Linked DNA regions of Homo sapiens: region 2 is linked to region 1. Evidence: promoter capture Hi-C in human tissues and cell types (Jung and others, 2019). All regions are on one chromosome and are shown on one strand. The core of a region is centred on a gene start or on the middle of the fragment in contact, and the rest is flanking DNA. Distances in the headings are between cores, read along the strand shown.

Region 1 (4,925 bases), core at 1,634-4,133:
TGGTGGTGGTGGTACTGCTGGTTGTTGTTGACACAGAAGATGTTCCCGGGTTTGGTTCAGTATCCATAGCTGTACTATGGTCCTTAAATCTGGCAGGTCACACAAAGTGTTTGTATTGGTAAAAGCATTATCTTATGAGCTTTAAAGAATATTCATTCCAAAGAAATAATCAGCAGTAATCTAAACTGCTAGGAAGGCTCTCATAAAAGACAGCCAACACACAGTCACTATAAGCACTTAGAAGGGAAAAATACTTCACATATATGGAGCATATTTAATAGTTAATACCTACTACATTTGAATTCAAATGATTCAGAATACGTAACTCAGATAACGCATAGCCAAAAGTTTATCTTTGCATTACCGAAAGATTTTTTTTAAACCAAAACAGGTAATGAGAGAATACTAAACTACCTAGGAAAATAAAAATTTAAGCAGTATCAGAGTATTTTAAAACATTTCTTTACATTCTTTTGACCACACTAATTACAAACTAAAGTCATTCTTACCTATACATTAGAACAGAATGCCTAGGGACTCATGTTAACTAGCTTAGTTTAGTTTACCATATAAACTTTGCTTAAAAATAAGTTCTTTTTAAAAAATGTTAAAAAGTAATTTTTTTAACTCACACTGGCTTTTCCCCTAATCAGTCTACAACGCTGTCCTTACTACTTCTAATAGCTGAGTTATACTTATTAGCAGATTGCTGTGAGAACACAGAGAAGCAGCAAACAGCAACTTCCCATACCCTTACAAAATCTTTTTCACAAAGAATTACTCCAGATTTTGAAAACATAAATTATGTCACTTCCTCATGTATGGACAGTAAAGTACACTTTTATACCAGACTTTCTTCCCTCCAATACTATAATCTTACTTGTTGTGGTACAAAATTCCACTAAATACAGAATCTGTATTTGAATAAATTCAAACACTTTAAGTCAATTCTAAGGACCTCCATATTGTTAGAAACCAGAAGAGCAGTAGTTTTTGTCGGGCCAGAAATGTACCTCGAAGGTGAAAAGCACACAAGAGATTATACTGGTTTTATCTCCCTTTTCTTATCGGTCTTTTCTTCTGAGAAACTAAATCCCACCCACCCCACATTAGCAGCACTGATAAAAATGTAAGAACACTTTCTATTCCATGAAAAAACAAATGAATCTGGCACTAATTGGTACACATACACTATTACCATAGCGTTGCTTTTTTAAGTACAAATTTTCTTTGTTCTATATTACGTATGTAAACAGTATTTATATTCTCTGAGGAACCAAATGTAAAAAAAAACCGAACAAAAAAAAAAAAAAAGGAAAAGTGGGGGCCTTGAGTGGCGGTTCACACCTGTCATCCTACCACTCAGGGGGAGGACTGCTTGAGCTTAGGCGTTCAAAGCCAGCCTGGGCAACATAGGGAAACCCTGTCTCTACAAATGAAAAATAAAAAATTAGCCAGGCCTGGTGGCACAGGACTGTGGTCCCAGCAACTTGAGAGGCTAAGGTGGGGAAATCGCTTGAGCCCAAGAGGGCCAGGCTGCAGTGAGCTATGATCGTGCCACTGCACTCCAGCCTGGGAGATAAGAGTGAGAGACGCTGTCACAAAGAAAGAAAAAGAAAATAAGAGGAAAAGTGAAAGGAAAACCGTCAGGAAGAAAGCTGACTCCTCACTTACTTTTTGGATTAGTAAATAATTCATACATTTTTATGCTTCTGTTTTTTTTTTTTTTTTCCAAACTGCCTTCCAATCAAATCACAGCATCATATGGTAACTGTTCAACATTATACAGTATTAGTGGTAGGTAAGGTAAACTTTTTACCGAACTGCTGCCTGTCATACTACTACCGTATCGTGTACCAGTGACATGCAAAAGGCCAGCTTAAGTTCTGGTTTTTTAAAAGTGTTAATCTGCTCAACTATGCCCTCCAATCCAAACAGTATGGTAAACAGTTCTAACTCCTAACCAAAAATGGTCACAGAGAATCCAAATTCTCGGCATAAGTCTAAACATCGGTTGAGCGGAACTGGCCAAACCATCGCACTGCATTTCGAGGCCTGGCACAAAAGAACAACTTTGGTAACTCCACCGTCTAGGCATACTAATACCTGCAAAATACAGCCAGCAGTTCTGGTGCACAAGAGGCCTACCCAGGAAACAGTAAGTTCTGGAGTCGTTAACTAAACATACCGTCACACCGACACACAAGAATGTGGCCCGCGTGTGAGGCAGCAACGCTGCACCCAGAGAATCGAGGGAAAGACCTTTCTTTCAGGGTGTTTTCAGCCTCACCAGACCTGCAAGCAGCCCCCGCCGCTCTCAGGCCCACGCCGGGATGCCTCCGGCACGAGGGAAGCGGGCAGCCCCGCGTGTCGGATTCTCCCGCTGAGGAGGAGTGGGGTGGCGCCGGGGCGGGAAGGAGAAGAAGGCGAAGGAGGCCTGGCAGTGCCCGCCCTGCCCTACCCAGCCTCCGCGGGCCCCTGCGCAGGCAGCCGTAACAAGGCTGCCCGCGGGGCCCACTTGCAGGAATGACAGCGCCTGAGGAGCCCACCCGGGCTCGTTCCCCGGAAAACCCCAGCTCCCGGAGTCCCAAGGGTGACCCTGCGCGCAGGGCCGCGCAGATCCGGGACCTGATGGCGGAAGGGGCGCTCCTGCCTGGAGGGTAACTGGACCCTAGAGTTCGTCTTCGCCCCGCGACACGGGCCTAGCCGGCTCCTCCACGATAGGACGGGTCTCGAGTCTCTCTTTCCCCACACTGCCCGCAAAAGAGCCCTGAGCTTTCCCCTGGGGGAACGTGTCGCTGCCCCAACTCGCCCCCCCTAGTTACGACATCAGTCACCATCTAGTCACTCACTCCGCTTCCGCCATCTTCTCTCCTCCATCACTAACATGGGCTGCGCATGCGCCCCCCGGCGGCGGGCGGAGAGGCGGGGTCGGCTCAGCCCCCGGAGCCAGAGGTCACGTGGCGTCCTCAGCTTCCAATCGCCCCCGCCCACCATAGGAATTGCTCTTTCTGGAAAGTGACCAGATTTCCCCCACTAAGATAACCAGTGTCTCCTCTCCAAACCCCTCTCTTTCTCTCCTCCAGGATCTTCCTCTTGGGGAGATATCTGTAATAAAGATATAAAAAGTTATCTTAGATTGTTAAATTTAAAATTTAAAGAATATGGGCGCGGTGGCTCACCTGTAATCCCAGCACTCTGGGAGGTTGAGGAGGATCTCTTGAAGCGAGGAGTTCAGGACCAGCCTTGACAATAAAGTGAGACCCTGACTCTACCAAAAAAAAGCCCAACAATAATAATAATAATAATAATAATTTTGAAGAATATCTAAAATATACCAAAGCCTATGCAAACTGCAGAGTGGTTTCAAAGAAAATACCCACGAGGATTAGAGGCTGAGGTCTCAGGGAGAAAGGAAATTCAGGGCTGGCTGCAGGGCTTGTTGCCTGGGAGCTTTGGGGCTTGAGGGTCCCAACCAGCAGTACCTCTCTCCAGCTGAAAGATAGTGTTCAGATGCCAGTGAATGAGTGGTTAAGGAATCATCCTGACTACCCTAGGCATATCATTCATGTCTTCAGTATGAATTTGCTGAGCGCTTAGTAGGAATTGCAAACTTGAACACCACAAGGAACAAGCAGGAACAGCCACCAGTTTGCTAGTGTAGTCTGCTAAATGCCAACAACTCAGGTGTGTGAGACAAACATATAAAGATAAGTAAAATAACACATTTAAATATAAATATGAAATAATAAAGATGAGTCCTTGTCTTCCAAGAAGTAGCGGAGCGGGTTTTATAGACATTTGCATACAATATAATGTGTTCTGAAGACCGGGACGATGGCTCACCCTCATAATACCAGCACTTTGGGAAGTGAAGTTGGGAGGATTGCTTGAGCCCGGGAGTTTGAGACCACCCTGGGCAACATGGGGAAATCCCATCTCTACAAAAAATACAAAAATTATCCGGATGTCGTGGCGCGCACCTGTCATCCCAGCTACTCAGGAGGCTGAGGAAAAAGTGTTCTGAAACAGATCTATTAAGTGCTTTGGAAAGTTTAAAGTTCAAGGTGTATAATAAATCTTTACCTCCCTTTACAGGAAAAAAAAAGCATACGAACCATAAACAATGTCTCTTTTTGCATTTTGTGAGGTGATGGAGTCACAATAATTTCAAGAACTGAGAATGAAGTATTGATATAAATCCATCCGGAAGTGTAATATGGTCTGATGAAAAGTATACTTAGTCTTAGAAATCCTATATGCCAGGATGTGCCTAAGGAAGGGAAAAGAACACTTCCCATCTATGTGAGCTTAAATTGTCCCTTTGCCCACTTTTCCCATCTGATAACATCTTTTTTTTTTACCTTGTCTACCTAATAGCAGTACTATCTACTACTACTTCTAGAATTCATTGAGAAAGTCTCCTTTTAAAAGTCCCTGTAGACCAGGCACAGAGGCTCACTCCTGTTATACCAGCAATTTGGGGGGCCGAGGAAGGCGGATAACCTGAGGTCAGGAGTTCAAGACCAGCCTGGCCAACATGGTGAAACCCTGTCTCTACTAAAAATACAAGAATTAGCCGGGTGTAGTGGCACCTGCCTATAATCCCAGCTACTCCAGAGGCTGAGGCAGGAGAATCGCCTGAACCTGGGAGATGGAGGTTGCAGGGAGACAGTGCCACTTCATTACAGCCTGGGAAAGAGACTGAGACTCCATCTCAAAAGAAAATAAAAAGTCCTTGTAGATGCTTTAAAATATTACTGCTTTTTCTTTCATTCTGACTTGCTCATATATCATTGTTATTAAACTTTTTTTTTTTAAATTGAGACGGAGTATTACTCTGTCGCCCGGGTTGGAGTGCAATGATGAGATCTCGGCTCACCACAACCTCCGCCTCCCGGATTCAAGCGATTCTCCTGCCTCGG
Region 2 (5,183 bases), core at 370-2,869, 110 kb after region 1:
GATAGGTGAAATAGAAAGGGTGAATTTAAAACAGAACTTTTTATCTCATTCTTTCTTTCTGTTCTTTTTAATAAAAGGAAGGATTACGGCCAGGAGATACAACCAGCACTTTCTGTGGTACTCCTAATTACATTGCTCCTGAAATTTTAAGAGGAGAAGATTATGGTAATAAATAAATTGGTGGTATTATTTTAGCTATTGCTAGATGGGTGGTAAAATGTGGTACCAATTGCATTACAGTACACTAATGCATTTTGACGTGATCTTATTAATATAAGGATTCTTGATCCTGTTAAAAACTACATGGAGAGTCCCAGACTTTGAAATCGAGACAGTGGGACCTTGGCAGTATTTGGGGGTACCAAGCTGAATAATATTTTATTAGTGGCAAACACTAAACAGTAGCAGGCACTATTCTAAGCAGTTTACATATATTAACTAAGTTAATCCTCTTAACAACCCTGTGAGGTAAGTACTATTAATTCTCCTTTTACAGTTGAAGAAACTGACATACGGAAAGTTTAAATAACTCGCCTAAGGTCAAGGATTCAGAACAGCACCCATGTGACTCCAGAGTCATGAACCCCTGGAAAATTTTTCAGATTTCCTGGGATATTTGCCCCAGGAATCTGAAAGATGGTGGAAAGATTAACTGTATCTCAGGCACCCGAAGATACACTTATCTTGAGAAAACATTTGACTTTTTGGGTTTTGGCCCTCTGCCTTCAGCAGATATAAAGGACAATGTGGTACTTGTGAGAGCTGCTCAAAGTCTGAATCCACTGTCCTTCACTGGTCTTTATCAGCTAGCAAAAGATCAAGTTTAAGACCAAGGAGGCAGGAGAATGGCGTGAACCCGGGAGGCGGAGCTTGCAGTGAACCGAGATTGTGCCACTGCACTCCAGCCTGGGCGACAGAGTGAAACTCTGTCTCAAAAAAAAAAAAAAAGCCCCTGTCCACACCTCCAGCAGTTGCCAACATATAGCCGGGCGCGGTGGCTCACACCTGTAATCCCAGCACTTTGGGAGGCCGAGGCAGGCGGATCACGAGGTCAGGAAATCGAGACCATTCTGGCTAACATGGTGAAACCCTGTCTCTACTGAAAACACAAAAAATTAGCCGGGCGTGTTCACAGGTGCCTGTAGTCTCAGCTACTCGGGAGGCCGAGGCAGGAGAATGGCGTGAACCCGGGAGGTGGAGCTTGCAGTGAGCCGAGATTGCACCACTGCACTCCAGCCTGGGCGACAGAGTGAGACCCCATCTCAAAAAAAAAAAAAAAAAGACCAAGGAGATTACTCTGAAATACAATTTAATTATATCCTCAACACACAATATTAGATATTGGGCATGAGTCTGAAAGTAGAAATACATGGAGAAAGAAAGTTTTTTTTTCTCATAATTTTATTTTTAAAATTATCTTTTAGGTACCTACCCTTGTTGATAAATGAAGCATTTCTATAATCTTCAGTGCCTACCATGATAGTTGGAATGCATTTAGAGTTTACTTTTTCATTGTTTCTTTTTCCTTTATGTGATAAAATTTCCAGTTACTAACTTTCAAGAATGCAAAGTGTATAATTTATTGCTTTAAAATTTCTTTCTGAAGGTTTCAGTGTTGACTGGTGGGCTCTTGGAGTGCTCATGTTTGAGATGATGGCAGGAAGGTCTCCATTTGATATTGTTGGGAGCTCCGATAACCCTGACCAGAACACAGAGGATTATCTCTTCCAAGGTAATTTGGAGTATTTTACAGAGATTCTCTGAGAAAAACCTATTCTAGAGTACAAATGAGAGTGATTCAGGTTACTACTTTGAGTAAGAAAAATGAGCATAATCTGGAAAATATAATCCTGACTGGTGGTATTAGGTTTTGTTGTTGTTTTTGTTTGTTTTTGAGACAAGGTCTCACTCTTTTGCCCAGGCTGGAGTGCAGGGGCGCAATCTCGGCTCCATGCAACCTCCACCTCCCTGGTTCAAGCAATTCTTCTGCCTCAGCCTCCCGAGTAACTGGGATTACAGGCACACTCCCGAGTAACTGGGATTACAGGCACACACCACTATGCCCGGCTAAATTTTGTATTTTTAGTAGAGACAGGGTCTCACCATGTTGGCCAGGCTGGTCTTGAACTCCTGACTTCAAGTGATCTGCCCACCTCAGCCTCCCCAGCATGCTGAGATTACAGGCATGAGCCACTGCACCTGGCCTCTGTGTATTAGGTTTTGATGTTTTTTAATACATTCTTTCTTTTCTATAGTCTTCACTCCTGTTCACAGTTACCTTCTCATACTCAAAATCATAACAGGGGTTATTTAGAATTATCCATCACAAACAGATTGGAGAAAGGAATCCTGTGGCTAGAGAGATAATCTTTACACAGGGACCCTGAGGCTGAGTGCATAAGTTCAAGAACAGTATGAGGGGAAAATAGAGCACCAAGATGATGAGTGATCAAAAGATGGGGAAAAAAGGCCCCACATCAGGGAATATACAGAATTGACAGAAACAAGCAGACAAGTGCAGGGACCTCTAGCACAGAATCCAAAGAAGTATGAAAACTACTATAAAATTCTACATTTAATAATTAAAGCCATCACAGGATATAAATAGGCATTTCATGCCCAAATGGCCATGGAATATGTGAAAAGACATTCAGTCTCACTAGCAATTAAGGGAATGCACATTAAATGTTAATGAGTTACCATTTCATATCGGTACATTTGATCAAAATATTAAAGTTGGGTAATACCAGTGCTGGTGAGGATGTGGAGCAACTGGAACTCTTCTAGACTGCTGGTAGGAATGAAAACTGACACAACAGCTTTAAAGAATAATTTGGCAGTGTCCAAAAAAATTGCATATTATATATGCTAAGCATTTTACAAATGTTAACTCATTTAAACCTCATAACAATCCTATGAAGTATTTTTTTATTCCTATTTTACAGATGAGGAAACTGAGGCATAATTAGGTAGTCAAAGAATAAGACATTCATGTAAATGATAAATAGTATTCAGATTAGAGGCTTTCTCTGAGAAGATGGGAAAAGAAGGGGTTTAGGAAAGTACAGGAGGCACTTCAGTTATATATGTAATATCTTATTTTTTTTCCTGGAATGCCTTAAATATCTTATAATAAAAATTTAAAGATTGCACCCAGGCATAGTGGCTCACATCTGTAATCCCAGCACTTTGGGAGGCCGAGATGGGCGGATCACTTGAGGTTAGGAGTTTGAGACCAGCCTGGCCAACATGGCAAAACCCCGTCTCTACTAAAAATAAAAAAAAATTAGCTGGGCGTCGTGGCGGGCACCTGTAATCCTAACTACTCAGGAGGCTCAGGCAGGAGAATCACTTCAGCCTGGAGGCGGAGGTTGCAGTGAGCTGAGATCGTGCCACTGCACTCCAGTCTGGGCAAGACAGTGACACTCTGTCTCAAAAAAAAAAGAAAAAAGAAATTTAAAGATTGCCAGGTGCAGTGGTTCACACCTGTAATCCCAGCACTTTGGGAGTCCAAGGCAGGAGGATTGCTTGAACCCAGGAGTTCAAGACCAGCTTGAGCAATATGGTGAGACCCTTATCTCTACAAAAAAATTTAAAATTAGCCAGCCATTGCTGGGCGCAGTGGCTCACACCTGTAATCCCAGCACTTTGGGAGGCTGAGGTGGGCGGATCACTTACCTTCATGAGGTCAGGAGTTTGAGACCAGCCCGGCCAGCATGGTGAAACCCCATCTCTACCAAAAACACAAAACTCACTGGGCATAGTGGCACACGCCTGTAATCCCAGCTACTCAGGAGGCTGAAGTGGTAGAAGCACTTGAACCCGGGAGGCAGAGGTTGCAGTGAGCTGAGATCGTGCCACTGTGCTCCAGCCTGGATGACAAAACAAGACTCCATCTCAAAAAAAAAAAAAAAAAAAATTTAGCCGAGCGTGATGGTGGCGCCTGTGGTCCCAGCTACTTGGGAGGTTGAGGTGGAAGGATTGCTTAAGCCCGGGAGGTCAAAGCTGCAGTGAGCTGTGATTGCATCACTGCACTCCAACCTGGGCAACAGAACAAGCCCCTTTCAAAAAAGAAGAAAAAAGATTAAAGCCATGTAAAAGTTAAATATAATACTATAATTTTTATCTTTCTAGTTATTTTGGAAAAACAAATTCGCATACCACGTTCTCTGTCTGTAAAAGCTGCAAGTGTTCTGAAGAGTTTTCTTAATAAGGTATAAATTGTGTATAAGAATATTTTGTGATTTGTCTCTTTCTATATATATCAAACTGGTCAGTAGCGGTTTGGGAAATGTAAAATTCCAAAACAGTAGAGAATGTAACTTTTTCAGTTTGACCCAGAATTTGTCTCTTACCCAAAGAGTAATTGACAGCATTAGATCCTGAGATAAGTTAGTTGTCCTTTCCATTTTGGCAATAAAATTTACTCCCCAGCTATATATTACATAATTTTTGTGTATGTGTAAATAATATATACCATATTCTCACATAGGGGAAGAGTTAATCTTTGGGTTTAGCCATAATTGTACTTTGAACTCTGTTTCCATTTTCTCTGTATCATTATCCATAGAATCTATTTATTACCATGTACTTTTTGAGCACGTGGGCCGCAGTGCTCCCTACAAATTCTCATGTCAAAAATGCTATAATTAGGTAAGATTCGGAAGAAATGAAATGCTATCTTTGGCTCTTAAAAATGTGAACATCATTCAATTGTTTGTTGCTGTTGGTAGGCTAGAGGAGTTTTAGGATCTAGGAGTGTGGTCTTGGCAATTATAAATTCTACTTTAAATAAATGGTATGATAGAAAAGTTGATGTACATTTACCTTCTAAGGTAAATAGATAAGATAATGAGTTTTAATAAAATAAGAAATTGAAGCCTTTTAAAAAATGAACAATTTATGTGAGGAAAGATTTAAACTTGAAACCTAATTTTTCACATAGTGAAAAATGAAGGCAAGAGGTGTTGATATGCAAAATAAAATACCTTTTATCAGAAAGAAAAATGGGAACATATTCTCATTCATAGTGATGAATAAGCCAAGACTTTTTATAAGTTGCAGGCTCCTCAGTCCAGTGATTCAGATAATGGTTGTATCATTGTCTTACACAGGTGGTGGTTTGTTGCTATAATTGGGCATGGGGATTTTAAATTAAGCTAAAAACAAACTTCTCATGAAGT

Evidence for each region. Contacts are between HindIII fragments. The study calls those that stand out against the background at their distance.
Region 2: a contact is called between a fragment that was not itself captured here and the fragment with the promoter of PHC3 in region 1, in 2 of the 25 tissues and cell types used here (mesenchymal stem cells and ovary).

Annotation. Positions count from the first base shown.
Region 1 is chr3:170,178,850-170,183,774 of GRCh38, forward strand. PHC3 (polyhomeotic homolog 3) reads right to left here and starts at 2,884. Exons shown (of 15, transcript NM_024947.4): 1 at 2,853-2,884; 2 at 1-89. The coding sequence starts at 2,866. RefSeq lists silencers at 2,349-2,428, 2,899-3,038. The HindIII fragment of the contact is 20,619 bases long and covers 1-4,925 here.
Region 2 is chr3:170,291,777-170,296,959 of GRCh38, forward strand. It overlaps PRKCI (protein kinase C iota), which reads left to right. Exons shown (of 18, transcript NM_002740.6): 13 at 78-165; 14 at 1,607-1,732; 15 at 4,135-4,214. Among named protein-coding and RNA genes, the nearest start is that of SKIL, 63 kb to the right of the region's middle. The HindIII fragment of the contact is 9,133 bases long and covers 1-5,183 here.